Regions from separate parts of the Homo sapiens genome. Here regions 1, 3, 4 and 5 are each linked to region 2. The links are contacts of gene promoters, found by promoter capture Hi-C in human tissues and cell types (Jung and others, 2019). All regions are on one chromosome and are shown on one strand. The core of a region is centred on a gene start or on the middle of the fragment in contact, and the rest is flanking DNA. Distances in the headings are between cores, read along the strand shown. Region 1 overlaps RPS6KA5 (ribosomal protein S6 kinase A5). Region 2 holds the start of CCDC88C (coiled-coil domain containing 88C). Region 3 overlaps RPS6KA5 (ribosomal protein S6 kinase A5). Region 4 overlaps RPS6KA5 (ribosomal protein S6 kinase A5). Region 5 overlaps FBLN5 (fibulin 5).

Evidence for each region. Contacts are between HindIII fragments. The study calls those that stand out against the background at their distance.
Region 1: a contact is called between a fragment that was not itself captured here and the fragment with the promoter of CCDC88C in region 2, in 1 of the 25 tissues and cell types used here (bladder).
Region 3: a fragment that was not itself captured here is called in contact with the fragment with the promoter of CCDC88C in region 2 in 1 of the 25 tissues and cell types used here (lymphoblastoid cells).
Region 4: a fragment that was not itself captured here is called in contact with the fragment with the promoter of CCDC88C in region 2 in 1 of the 25 tissues and cell types used here (lymphoblastoid cells).
Region 5: a contact is called between a fragment that was not itself captured here and the fragment with the promoter of CCDC88C in region 2, in 1 of the 25 tissues and cell types used here (hippocampus).

What each region holds. Positions count from the first base shown.
Region 1 is chr14:91,030,072-91,032,771 of GRCh38, reverse strand. The region is part of intron 1 of RPS6KA5 (ribosomal protein S6 kinase A5); the gene reads left to right. Among named protein-coding and RNA genes, the nearest start is that of RPS6KA5, 29 kb to the left of the region's middle. The HindIII fragment of the contact is 5,621 bases long and covers 1-2,700 here.
Region 2 is chr14:91,416,386-91,419,085 of GRCh38, reverse strand. CCDC88C (coiled-coil domain containing 88C) reads left to right here and starts at 1,266. Exons shown (of 30, transcript NM_001080414.4): 1 at 1,266-1,455; 2 at 2,248-2,348. The coding sequence starts at 1,396. It overlaps CCDC88C-DT (CCDC88C divergent transcript), which reads right to left and starts at 840. Exons shown (of 3, transcript NR_184261.1): 1 at 746-840. It also overlaps the pseudogene LOC112268126. RefSeq lists enhancers at 141-785, 2,391-2,680, 2,691-2,700 and a silencer at 851-1,770. The HindIII fragment of the contact is 13,115 bases long and covers 1-2,700 here.
Region 3 is chr14:90,990,634-90,993,333 of GRCh38, reverse strand. All of the region lies in intron 2 of RPS6KA5 (ribosomal protein S6 kinase A5), which reads left to right. Among named protein-coding and RNA genes, the nearest start is that of RPS6KA5, 69 kb to the left of the region's middle. The HindIII fragment of the contact is 3,689 bases long and covers 1-2,700 here.
Region 4 is chr14:90,930,967-90,933,666 of GRCh38, reverse strand. The region is part of intron 5 of RPS6KA5 (ribosomal protein S6 kinase A5); the gene reads left to right. Among named protein-coding and RNA genes, the nearest start is that of LINC02321, 100 kb to the right of the region's middle. The HindIII fragment of the contact is 5,911 bases long and covers 1-2,700 here.
Region 5 is chr14:91,913,558-91,916,257 of GRCh38, reverse strand. The region is part of intron 4 of FBLN5 (fibulin 5); the gene reads left to right. Among named protein-coding and RNA genes, the nearest start is that of FBLN5, 33 kb to the left of the region's middle. The HindIII fragment of the contact is 4,313 bases long and covers 1-2,700 here.

The DNA.
Region 1 (2,700 bases), core at 172-2,671, 390 kb after region 2:
GCAGTTCTTTGGCAACTCAGAAGTCTTGCTTTTCTTGAAAGTGTTCTGTCTTTCCCGTGCATGTTTGCTTATGTTGTTTCTTTGATGTGGACTATATATTCCTGTTAAAACTCACTCAGTTCTTCAGGACCCATAGCCGTCAAGCATGAAGCTATCTCTGATGTTCCAACTAGATGTGTTGCCCCTGCCTCTTTGGAATTCATGCAGCACCACATTTTGGCTGTAGTGCATAGTTAGGTATTATAGTTTTTTTTTAATTGATTCCGTTCACTCTAGCAGATAGTGTGCTTTGTGGGGAGGAACTGTTTCATCATCTTTGTTTCCCAGTGTCTGTCATAGTAACTGTGCGTGTTTAGCTGCAAGTAAGAAAACTCAACTACAGTGGCTTAACTAAAAAGGATTTTTAAAATCCTTGCATAACAGGGAGTCTGGAGCCAGGAAGCCCAAGCCCCTAAGAATCTAGACTCTTTCTGCTCTGGCAGGCTTAAATGTGTTTTAGCTTTTGCCCTCATTGATTATTCACATTCACAAAAGAATATGGGAGAAGAGGAAAACAGTTTCTAATGTAGGTTTTGAAATCCTCTTTACTAGACTTTTCTGTATGTTGAATTTTTGGTCACATGGTATCACATGGTCATCATTCTGCAAGGGAGGCTATGAAATCAGATATTGAGCTTCCCAAGGGGAGAAGGTAGTTGAGAATGGTGAGAACGGTGTTTAAGTGGACCTGCCTATAATGTCGCCCGCAAAGAGTACTCAATAAATATTCTTTGTTTAATTTTAAAATTTTTATTAAAACGATCCATATAAATACTTAGTCAAATAGTACAAGAGGGATTTTATTCCCAGTTTCTACTCTTTTCTAATATTTTCTACCAATTTCAAGTGGCATTTTAAAACTCTTGAGTCATCAATTTTAGACCTGTTTTATTTCCCTGCCTGTCTACTTAATGAAGTTATATTATAATTTTGGTTGAATCCACATTCAGTTTTTAATGGCTATATAAATATTCATTGTGGGGCCAAGTGTTTTATGTTTTTTTTCCTTCCTTAAATAAGTTTTTTTTGGTTGTTTTTCCTGGAGTTAAATTACCCCAGTCTTTTCATTCACTTAGCTTTCTTTGAGTCTCTAAGTGTTTCTACATGTTTTAACAGCTTTATAAAATACTTTTCATTATGATTTTCTATAGGTTAGATAACCCATGAGTTCTTTTTTTCTTAAAGACAGTCCTTTGTGGAACTCTGTTCCGTCTCTTCCATTCTGGATTGGTTTCTTTCTCAACTTTGTGTAACTGTCATAATGGGATTTTCCTTCACTATCATCCTGGGAATTATGTGCTTAATCCTGTTTCCTGGATCCAATGGCTGTCCTCTTTTTTAGTATTATATCTGTGGCGCATCCTCCAGTAGATTGCTGAGAAAGCTTGCATAGGAGATTTTTTTTTGGAAAAGCTTTTTCAGATATTAAAATGTCTTCATTATGTTCTCATATTTGTGACAGGTTTGCTTGGTTTAAAGTTGTAGATTGAATTGTTACTTGGGATTTTGAAGGCATTATCCCATTGTCTTCTAGCTTCTAATGATGCTGATGAGAAGTTTGATACCATTCTTATTTCCAGTGGTTTGTATGTGACCTATTTTTTAAAATCTCTGGAAGGTTTTAGGATCCTCTCTTTATCCCTGGTTTGGAATTTTGGAATTTTACATTTATATTTTAAAATTTATTTGCTAAGCACTGAGTATGCCCATTAAAACTCCTTTAGTTCTGGGGATATTTTTTGAATTAGTCCTCCTCTGGGTTCTTCTGTTCACTTTTTCTAAAATTCTCTTAGATACTGGATTTCCAAGATTATTCTGTGTTTTTAAATTTTTTTAATCTCCTGTTGTTTATCTCCTTGCATCTTTACTTTACATTTGGTCTCTTTCTTTAACTTTATTATCTAGACCTTTAATAGGCTCCCCCTATACAGATTTAAAAGTTTTCTAAGAGCTTGATTTTTTGTTTTATTTCTTCTTAATTGCTCTCTTTTTCTATTTTATGGTTGAACTATATACCTCCTTAAGGATAATTATACTTTTTATGAAGTTATTTTCCTAGTACCCTGGGTTGCCTCTCTTTCTTCTGAACTTCCTTTTTTTTTTTTTTTTTTTTTTTTTTTTCTGTTTATTTTGGTGTCTTGCATGTTAGGGATTTCTCTCAATTGTCTGGTGATCCTTGACTGTTAATGTGAATAAGACACCAAAATGCTGGTTAGAAACTCTGTCTTGCTGGCTGGAGGCTTACATGGTATAGTTTTTCACCGGGAGCTCCATATGTCAATATCAACAACTTTTACCCAAGTTTGTTCATTTTTCCATAAAAGGATCCTCTGGACTTCTTGGGGAACATTAGCCTGGCTCTCTGCTTTCTGAAACCAACAGCGCGTGTGTAGACTTATATATTATTCTGCATTTTCCGTTCTTACCTCATCCTTGCTTCTCTCTATACCCAGTGACCCCAAATCTGGTTCTTCTCCCAGGAAATTATTAATCCTAAGTGTTACGAGTGTGAGGACTTGGGGAATAAAACTCCTTAAATCCGTTTCAGACATTTCCCCTGTTTGCATTCTTTATCTTGCCCTCCCCAGTCCTCTGCCTTTGGTGATTACAGGTGCTTCTATAATTTGGAGCCTTTTGGGGTTCTCTGGGGGTGATTTAGCT
Region 2 (2,700 bases), core at 17-2,516:
AGGGACCCCTAACCGACCCCCTTGGCTCTCAGGCCATAATCTCACAACCCTCCCCAGCCCAACGGGGTCCGCCAGCGCTGGGCTGTAATACCACTCGCCACCAGCAGATGCCGCAGCCCCAACGCTGCACAGAGCCAACTTTCAAAATTACCACCGAGCCTGTCGGCAGCCATTTAGTGCCTGCTGTATACTTGCCAAGCGCCACGCAGGGCCCTTCGGGTCAACCCTGTACCAGTTGGCCCAGCTGCGAAATGCGGCGATCGTTAGGGTTAAATTAGTAAAATGGTCTACAGTGCTTTGAACAATGACCGGCTGGTGGTGTGAAATTATTACCAGGCCGAGACCAGCCTGGAGCCGGCTCCTGCCTCGTGCCGTCCCGCAAGGAGGTCCTGCCCCCGGGCTTGCCTTCCAGCCAGTTGGGGCCTTTGCCCTTTTTCCTGTCGCCTGCCACTAAGCTGCTGCTAGGAACCCCGGCTGGAATTTAGCTCGCCTCCGGCAAAGTGGTGGGGGCGGGCCCGGGTCGGGGAGGCCACATCACCTGCTTCCTGCAGGAACTTTTAGAAGGCAGGCAGCCCGGAACATGGCACGGTGGGGCACGGTAGGGCGCGAGGGGCCGCGCCCCTAAGGCCTAAACTCAACATAAAGTTTCTTCTTTGCCCTCCAGCCCAGCCCCAGGGTCGGGGCGCGTTTATCGCGCCGCGCACAAGCGTGAGGAGCGGGGGTTTGCGGGGCCTCTTGACTGTACCTGGGGCTGCACCTGCCAGGAGTGCGGAAAGGCGCAGGGCCGAGGTCCCCAAGCCCAGAGCGGGCGGCAGCTGCGGGCGACCTCGGAGGGCAGAGCAACCTCGGAGGGCAGGGCGTCCCCGCTCCCGGCACGCACCAGTGCCCGCGCACCCCAGCTCGCACGTGGCGCTCGGGCCCCGGCTGCACGCGCACGCGCGCAGGGATGCGCCACGTGCTGGGGCCCCACACGCGGGGAGGCTGCGCTCGGCGAGGGCGCGCGGTCCCACGGGCGGGGAGCCGGGCCCCGCGACCCACCCGCCTCGGGCCACCAGTCCCCTCCCAGCGCCCCGCGTAGCCTGGTCCCGCGCCCGGGCTCCCGGGCTCCCGGGCTGGCACCGCGAGGCGGCGCGCCGGTCGCCCAGGGCCGCCGAGGGGCGGGGCCGCCCGTATTGTTCCTCCCCGAGCGGCTGGCCCTCCCCTTCCCCCAGACCCGGGCGGGGCGCGGGGCCGCCGAAGCCGCGGAACGTGGGCTCGCGCGCCCCGCCTTTGTCTCCCGGGCGCGAGCCGCCGCAGCCCCGCGCCCGCTGCTCGCTGCGGAGCCGTTTTGTGCCGCGGCGCGGGGGAACGGGGACGCGGGGCGGGGGGCGCGGAGCCGGCGGGCGCAGCCTCAGCATGGACGTGACAGTCTCGGAGCTCCTGGAGCTCTTCCTGCAGAGCCCGCTGGTGACCTGGGTGAGTGCGCCTGGCTCCCCGCCCCTTTGTTGGTGCACCGGCTTCTCTCTAGCCCGGCGACGGGACGCCGCAGACCCGACACGGCCGGGGCCCCGGGTGGCTCCGGGGCGCGAGGGACGCAGCAAGTGGCTCCCGGCCGGGGTTGGGGCCGCGTCCTGGAGTCCGGAGCTTTGTAACTCTGGAGCCGGCGCCCCCGTTGTGCGTCCGGCGCGGGACCCCGCCGCGCTTTCGGCCGGGCCAGGAGCCGGGCGGGTACACCTGTTCCCGCTGGGGCTCTAGGCTGGCTGCCTCGGGGCGGACCGGGTCCCAGTGGTCACTCCTGTCCCTGGGGTTTAGCCACTCCCGAAAAGGACCCCATTCTTCCCAACCAAATATCTCATGTAGTTTTTCTGAATCCCTGAGACCAGCCGGTGGATGGCGGTGACGGGTGGGGAATGGGGGGCGCCGAATGGGAAAGCGAACAGACTGGGGTGGGCGCACTGATTTACAATGGATTTGAGACGTGAGACATTTATTGAAAAGTCCTTTTTATTTTTATTTCTTCCGCTCTGGAACGCGGGAGAAAAGTGGCGAGGAAGTTTTTCCTCCTGTCTCGTGTCTGTTGCCCCGCGCGGGGAGGGGAGACAGGCCCTAGGAGAAGGCCGGGCTTGGTGCCTGCTGAAGGGTGGTGTGGGCGTGGGTGACCCCCTTCTGCTCACACTGACCCGTCCAGTCTCTGCCTGGGAGAGCTTTGGACCGTTTGTGCGCACGGGGTGACTTCCTGTCTTTCTCTCCTCGTCCCCCTCCCCGCAGGTGAAAACTTTTGGCCCGTTTGGAAGCGGCAGCCAGGACAACCTGACTATGTACATGGATTTAGTGGACGGCATCTTTTTGAACCAAATTATGCTGCAAATGTAAGTTACCTTCTTCTCGGAGGAAGGAAAGAATGGTGCGTTAGAAAGTTTGAGAGTAGAAATGGAGTGGAAGGTTGCATGGCGGGGTGTGTGTGGGGTGGGGGGTAGTTCTCTGAAGGTGGAGACGCTGGTATCTCAGTATTAACGTGCCTGTTGGACATTCGTAGGTGTTTGAAGAACTCCAGGACAGTGGGTCTGGCAGTTGGTTTGATGAAGGAAATTTGGAATTGAATGACTGTCATTTACGTGGTGTAGATAGTGCAATTGACTTCAGACTCAAGGACTTAATTGTGGTTTGAGCAATGAAATGAAAAAGTCCCCTTTTGGAGGGCAAGGAACTGTAACGGAGAGT
Region 3 (2,700 bases), core at 2-2,501, 430 kb after region 2:
TGAGTAGCTGGGACTACAGGCTCATGCCACCATGGCTGGCTAATTTTTGTATTTTTAGTAGAGATGGGGTTTCACCATATTAGCCAGGCCGATCTCGAACTCCTGACCTCATGATCTGCCCACCTCGGCCTCCCAAAGTGTTGGGATTACAGGTGTGAGCCACCACGCCCAGCCAACATTTTCAAACATACAAAAGCTGAGTGAGTTTTCTACCAATAGGTCCCCTATGAGAATTTTAAAAGAAGTAGTTTTAGGAAGAAGGAAAATAATCCCTGGAGAATTTTCCGAGATGCAAAAAGAATTACTGAACAAACAGTCTAAAGCATACTGACTGTGTAAAGCTCTCGTCACGATGTCTCATTTGTGGAGTTGAAAAAAGAAAACTGAAAAATTGGACAAAATAGCATTTAATTTGGGAGGTGACAGGAGTTAGTTTCCTGAAGTAATGTTCCTCAAAGTTTAACATGCACAGTAATCTTGAAATGTGTAAATTACCAAACTGATTGAAAAAAGGTGTGAGAAACCTACATAGTCCTATAACTGTTAAAGAGATTGGTCAGTAAGCAAAAATCCTCTTGCTGGGAAGACACTCAGTACAGTTTTAAGAATGAGTTCTGCCACACATTCAAGGCATAGATAATTCTGATCTTCCACAAACTCTTTCAGAAAACAGGAAAAGGGGGATTATTTCCTCCAACTCATTGTATGAGTCCAGTGTAACCTTGATTCCAAAAAACACACTAGGACAGTATAAAGAAGGCAGATTATCAGCCCATTTTATATATGTGAAATTTTTAATATCAAATTTATATAGTCAAACCTTGTGTGTATTTTCTTTCAACACATTGAATACTTTGACTCATTATCTATTATACATCTGCACTGAGTAGTTTGGTTACAGGCCTTGAAGACAATTCTGTAAAGGTAAGGAAACAGTTTACCTGTAATGTTTTACCTTTGTATTTCCATTTTGTGTGTGTGCACTGTTTTATAATGGATCAGTTGTCAGCCATGGAGACTGCTTTTCCTTTTTGCCAGCTGACAGTGTAGTCTCTTATGAGAAGATGGGATAACTAAGAAATGTCATTGTAAGTATATCTGCCTTTAAAAAATCACAGTTTTGATGACTAAATGGAGTAGGTGGAAGCTTTTATAATGAATATAATAAAATCTCAATTTTTATTCAAAAATTTTACCACTAATCTTTCAGTTTCATTACCTTTTTAAGATAAATTTTTTTCAGCACTACTTAGAATAATAGGAAAGACTCATCAGATGTCTTCATGTGTCATGTAAGGTTTTCTTTGGAAATGAAACTGAAAACTCTTCTGATGAATTAATTTCTATATATTTAAACTAGAAAAAAATGCTATTCATCAAATATCTTGAAGACTGTGGAATATTTGAATATCAAAGATTTACTTTTTGACACTTAAATACATCTAATATGCATAAAACTCTTTTTTACTCAGATTGACTTGCTTCTCTTGAACTATCTGGTTTCCTTTGGCCTATCACTAACCTTGATCAGTTTTCTGAGCTAGAAACTTTTAAATAATTTTGGATTCTTTTTGGATTCTTCTCTATCTATTTTGACCTCTTTATCTCTCTTCTTTTTTTTTTTTTTTTTTTGAGATGGAGTCTCACTCTGTCACCCAGGCTGAAGTTCAGTGGTGTGATCTCAGCTCACTGCAACCTCTGCCTCCCAAGTTCAAGCTATTTTCCTGCCTCAGCCTCCCGAGTAACTGGGATTACAAATGTGCACCACCATGCCCGGATAATTTTTGTATTTTTAGTAGAGACAGGGTTTCACCATGTTAGCCAGGCTGGTCTCAAACTCCTGACCTCAAGTGACCCACCTGCCTCGGCCTTCCAAAGTGTTGGGATTACAGGTATCAGCTGCTGCGCCCAGCCCAGCCTCTTTACTTCTATTTTCTCACAAAGTCCTATAATTTTCCCCTTAAAGTGATCCTTGGATTTACCTTTTCTGGGCCTAAGAACGGAAAGTGCCATCACTCATTTTACCTTATGCATGGATTCTTTCAAGGGGTGTCTTAACCTGTCTGCCTTTCTGTAGGCTCTCTTCCATTTGTGCATTTTAATATCATATGCTGTTATACGTAATATACAGTCTTGCTAAAATACAACATTTTCGTGCAGTTTTTCTATTTAAGAACATATACTGCATTTTTTCCCATTTAACTATTCAAGCCCAAATTCTTGCCTTGCTTTCAGTTTCCCCTGTCTTTTTTCGCCCAGCTTACCCTGATATTCTGCCTACTTTCTATTTTTTTCCCCAACTTTTATTTTAGGTTTGGGGGTACATGTTCAGGTTTGTTACCTGAATAAATTGCCTGTCGCTGGTGTTTGGTGTAAAAATGATTTTGTCACCTAGGTAGTGAGCATAGTACCCTATATGTAGTTTTTCAACCATCACCCTTCTCCTACCCTCTCCCCTCAAGTAGGCCCTAGTATCTATTCTTTCCATTTTTATTTCCATGTGTACTCAATATTTAGCTCCCACTTATAAGTGAGATCATTTTCTTTTCCTACATCAGTTTGCTTAGGAAAATGGTCTCCAGCTGTATCCGTGTTGCTGCAAAGGACATGATTTCATTTTTTAAAATGGCTGCATAGTATTCTGTGGTGTACATGTACCATATTTTCTTTATCCAGTCCACCATTGATGGGCGTCTAGGT
Region 4 (2,700 bases), core at 42-2,541, 490 kb after region 2:
AGTGATCTCCTATTTTGGAAGAATAATTCTGGTTGATAACTGTGATAATCCTGTAGTGGGACAAGTGTGGAAACATGAGGTCCAGATAGAAAACTGTTGAAGTAATCCCAGCAAGAGATGGAACTGGCCTAGACTATGGAGTAGCAGATTTTAGGACTATTTTGACATTAGATCTAATGGAATTTTTTGATGAGTTAGATGTGGGGTATGAGAATTCAGAAGAAATCTAGTGTGGCCCCAAGGTTTTTGGCCAGAACAGCTGGAAGGATGAAATTTCCATCAACTAATATGGGGTAGGCTGCTGATGGGGAGCTATCTGGGGTTACAAGAGGAGAAGTTCAGCTGGACAGGTTAAGTTTGAGACATTTATTAGACACACAGCAGAGATGTTAAGCAGTGAGCTATATGAGTCTGGAATTTGGGAGAGAAGTCTGGTCTGGATCTATGAATTTGGAATTTGGAAAACAAGGTGGATTGTCTCAGAAGACAAGTGAAAAAATGTTTCAAGGTTGAAAATGATTAACTGTGTCAAATGCTATTGTTAGGTTAAATAAGATGGGGACTGAAGATTGAGCATTGATTGGCTCAGTTTTAACCTTAGGAAAGAGAATAGCAGTAGCCTTATTGTCTTCCACATATGTAGACAACTTGGGGTTTTCTGTTAAAAGGAATAGTGAAATTCTGTGAAGAGCATAGCAGAGGATGAAGTGAGGATGAAAAGAGGGTTTTTTCCCCTAAGATGGGAGAAATTACAGATGTCATACACTAGTTAGAATAGTCCTCAAAAGGAAGTGGGGTAGATACACTGATATCTACCACCCAAACCCAGATATCTATCTCCTATAATAATACAGCAGGTAAAGTGGGAAATTGCTGGAACACTGTCCTTGAGAAGGATAATGTCAAACGCACAAGTGAGTTTGTGCGTGATCATGCTACTAGTGCTTAACGAGTAGCATGGTCAGTTCATGCTTAGAAACTGAAGAAAGTTGAGTTACTAGGCACACATGTGGGTGGAGGTTAAGTGGTGTGTACTGGCAGCTTATAGAAGGTCTTCTGTTTTCTCACTGAGTATGAGGAAGGGAGTGGACACATCGAGGTTTTAGGAGAAAGGAGATGATATAAAATAACCAACTAACAATGTGGGAGAGTGAACGGATTAGGGAAATGAATGTGTTTGCTGGGTACTATTAAGACCCATGTGAGATTCCTGATCATGAATTTAAAGTGAAATTGCCTGGGCTGATGCCTGTAATCCCAGCACTTTGGGAGGCCGAGGTAGGAGGATCACTTGAGCCCAGGAGTTTGAGACTCAACAGCCTGGGGAACAGTGTTGGGCAACAGTGAGACCTCATTCCTATAAAAAAATAAAAAAATTAGCCGAGCATGGTGGCACGTGCCTGTATTCCTAGCTACTTGGGAGGCTGAGCTGGGAGGATTGCTTGAATCCGGGAGGCAGAGGATGCAGTGAGCCAAGATCATGCCACTGCACTCCAGCCTGGGTGACAGAATGAGACCCTGTCTCAAATGAATGAATGAATGAATGAATGATTGAATGATTGAATAAAATCGGCCAACCTGATTATATGGTTTTCTCCAACAATGTGTAGCTGCACTGGTGCAGGTAAAGAGTATGTGGTGGATTAATTTTAATTGTGTTTTAGTACCCTTACTTCATGTGTGTATATCCGTAAACAATATATACTATTACCATGTTTTTTAAATGTACATACATGACATATTCTATTGCAAATTGTTTTTTATTTGACCTATTCTTGAAATTTATCCAAGCTGATAAATGGGATGTTTCATTTATTTTAACTGTTGTGTAATAATCCTTTATATTAGTTATCCAGTCTATCTTTTCTCCTACTGAGGTACATTTAGGTTGTTTCTATGTTTTCTCTATCACAGTGTTGCATTTTTTCCCCTGATGTTATTGATTTGTTGGAGTTCGTTAAGTATTATAGATACCAACCCTTTATAACTATATGTTTTGTAAATTTCTTTTCTAAAATTTTAACTTGTTTTTAATTTTGTTTAATGATCTTTTTTGCCATTTAACATTTTAATATCCAATGTACTAAATCTTTTCTTTTACGGCTTATTTTTTTAATTTTAAAAAAATTTTAATTGTGGTTAAAAAAACACAAAACAAAAATTGCCATCTTAACTGTTTGTGAATATATGGTTCAGCAGCTTTAATAATACTCATTTTGTTATGTAACAGATCTCTAGCACTTTTTCATCTTGCAAAATTAAAACTCTATACCTTTTCCCCCGTCCCCTAACCCCCAGCAGCCACCATTCTACTTTCTATTTCTGTGAGTTTGACTACTTATGATATCCCATGTCAGTGGAGTTGTACAGTATTTATTTTATTTTTGTGACTATTTCACTTAGCATAGTTCTCAAGGTTCATGCATGCTGTAGCATGTGACAAGATTTCCTTCTTTATTAAGGCTGAATAATATTCCATGGTATTTATATGCCACATTTTGTTTATTCGTTTATCTGTTGATGGACATTTGGATTGCTCTCACCTCTTGGCTATTGTGAATAATACAGTGAACGTGGTTGTGCAAATATTTCTTCAAGAGGCCTGCCTTCAATTCTTTTGGATATATACCCACAAGGGGGATTGCTAGATCATATGGTAGTTCTACTTTTAATTTTTTGAGGAACATTTATACTATTTTC
Region 5 (2,700 bases), core at 97-2,596, 500 kb before region 2:
GCCAGGCTGGTCTCAAACTCCTGGCCTCAAGTGATCCACCTACCTCGGCCTCCCAAAGTGCTGTGATTACAGGCGTGAGCCACCGTGCCTGGCCACCTGAATTCTTTTGAGCTGTTCTTTGTTATCCTGCCCTTAGGAACAACAAAAAATAAAAGGCAAAGAATGGTAGATTTTTACCATATGTAACCATCATTATCTTTGGTCATGTTATAGTATGATTTGTTTACAATATACTGCTGGATTTGTTTGGCTAACATTTTATTTAGGATTTTTGTCATTAATGTCTATAAAGTAGAATGACCTGCCACATTTCTTTTTTAATATTACTCTTACTAGTTTTGGTGTCCACATATAAGCTTGATAGAGTGAGATATTGTTCCTTTTCTATTCTCTGGAAAGTTAGAATGGTCTAACCTTAGGTCATTCATGGAAATTTTATTCAAATTCAATTCATGGAAAGTTTATTTGAATTTGCCTATAAGATCATTGAGATTTGGTATTTTTGGGTGTGTGAGTGGGAAGATTTTTAGCTACTGATATGATTTCTTTTTTTTTTTTTTTTTTTTTTTTTGAGATGGAGTCTTGCTCTGTCGCCCAGGCTGGAGTGCAGTGGCGTGATATCGGCTCACTGCAACCTCCGCCTCCCGGGTTCATGCCATTCTCCTGCCTCAGCCTCCTGAGTAGCTGGGACTACAGGTGCCCACCACCACGCCTGGGCTAATTTTTTTGTATTTTTAATAGAGACGGGGTTTCACCATATTAGCCAGGATAGTCTCGATCTCCTGACCTCGTGATCCACCCGCCTTGGCCTCCCAAAGTGCTGGGATTACAGGCGTGAGCCACCGTGCTTGGCCGCTACGATATAATTTCTTAAAGTTAGGGGACTGTTTGCACTTTCTGTTTCTTCTTAAGTCAGTTTTACATAGTTACCTTTTTCTAAGAACTTGTCTACTTAATAAGTTTTTAGCTTCATTTGCATAAGCTTTTTCTTACCATTCTTTGTGTTATCTATTTGATCTTTGCTGACTTTGTAGTTCTGTTGTATTTTCATTCCCAATATTGTGCTAACTCTTTTTTTTTTATTATTTTTTATTTTTTTAGACAGAAACTTGCTCTGTTGCCCAGGCTGGAGTGCAGTGGTGCGATCTTGGCTCACTGCAACCTCCACTCCCTGGGTTCAAGTGATTCTCCTGCCTCAGCCTCCTAAGTAGCTGGGATTACAGGTGCTCGCCACCACACCCAGCTAATTTTTGAATTTTTAGTAGAGATGGGGTTTCACCATGTTGGTCAGGCTGGTCTTAAACTCCTGACCTCAGATGATCTGCCTGCCTCAGCCTCCCAAAGTGCTGGGATTACAGGTGTGAGTCACTGCACCCAGCCTTGTGTTAATTCTTTAATTAAAAAACAAAAAACAAAACAAAACAAAACAAAACAAAAAAAAAAACCACACAGATATTGCCAGAGTCATATCAGTTTGCTGTTTTCAAAAAGAAATATTTTGCTTTGTTGCTCTCCCCGATCTCTTTCTTTTCCTTTTGCTTTTATTTCATCAATTCCTGTTTTTTATTCTTTTCTTTCTATGTTTTGGATTTGTTTCTGTTTAAATTTTTTTCTTTTTTTATTTTTTCGAGAGTCTCATTCTGTTGCCTAGGCTGTATGCAGTGGCATGATCATGGTTCACTGCAGCTTTGATCTCCTGGGCCTCAAGTATCTGGGACCACAGGTATGTACTATACTGCCCAGCTAATATTTGTTGTTTTTTTTTTTTTTTTTTTTTTTTGAGACAGAGTCTCACTCTGTCGCCCAGGCTGGAGTGCAGTGGCATGATCTCGGCTCACTGCAAGCTCCGCCTCCTGGGTTCATGCCATTCTCCTGCCTCAGCCTCCTGAGTAGCTGGGACTACAGGCGCCTGCCACCACGCTCGGCTAAATTTTTTTGTATTTTTGTAGAGACAGGGTTTCACTGTGTTAGCCAGGATGGTCTCGATCTCCTGACCTCGTGATCTGCCTGCCTCGGCCTCCCAAAGTGCTGGGATTACAGGCATGAGCTACTGCGCCCAGCTAATATTTGTATTTTATGTAGAGGCAGGGCCTCGCCATGTTTCTCAGGCTGGTCTCGAACTCTTGAGCTCAAGTGATCTGCCTGCCTTGGCCTCCCAAAGTGCTAGGATTACAGATATGAGCAACTGTGCATGGCCCCTTTTCTAATTTCTTAAGCTGGTTGCTTAGCTCATTAACTGTAAGCCTTTCTTCTTTCATTAAGTCAGCACTTAAGACTACATATTTTTTGGTGTGACCTATAAGTTTGGATGTATGGTATTTATTGCTATTAAGTTGTAAGAATTTTTAATTTTCCCTGTAATCACTTCTTGTTATCCATGATTTATTTAGTGGTGAGTTTCTGAATGTTACACATTTATGGGGATTTAAATTATCTTTTTGTTATTGATTTATAACTTAATTGCGTTGTCATCAGGACATAGGGTCTTCATGATTTATTCACTTTGGTATCCACAATGCCTAGCACAATGCCAAGAATGTAGATGTCATTTAGTAAGTATTTGCTGATATAATTGAATGATAGTTGAGTGAACATCTATTGACCAGGCGTTAGAAGAATTATCTCTGCTCAAATTGTCCAATCCTTCCAGCTACTTGATATTCCAAAATAACTCCACAAATGGGCACTGGAAATATAATG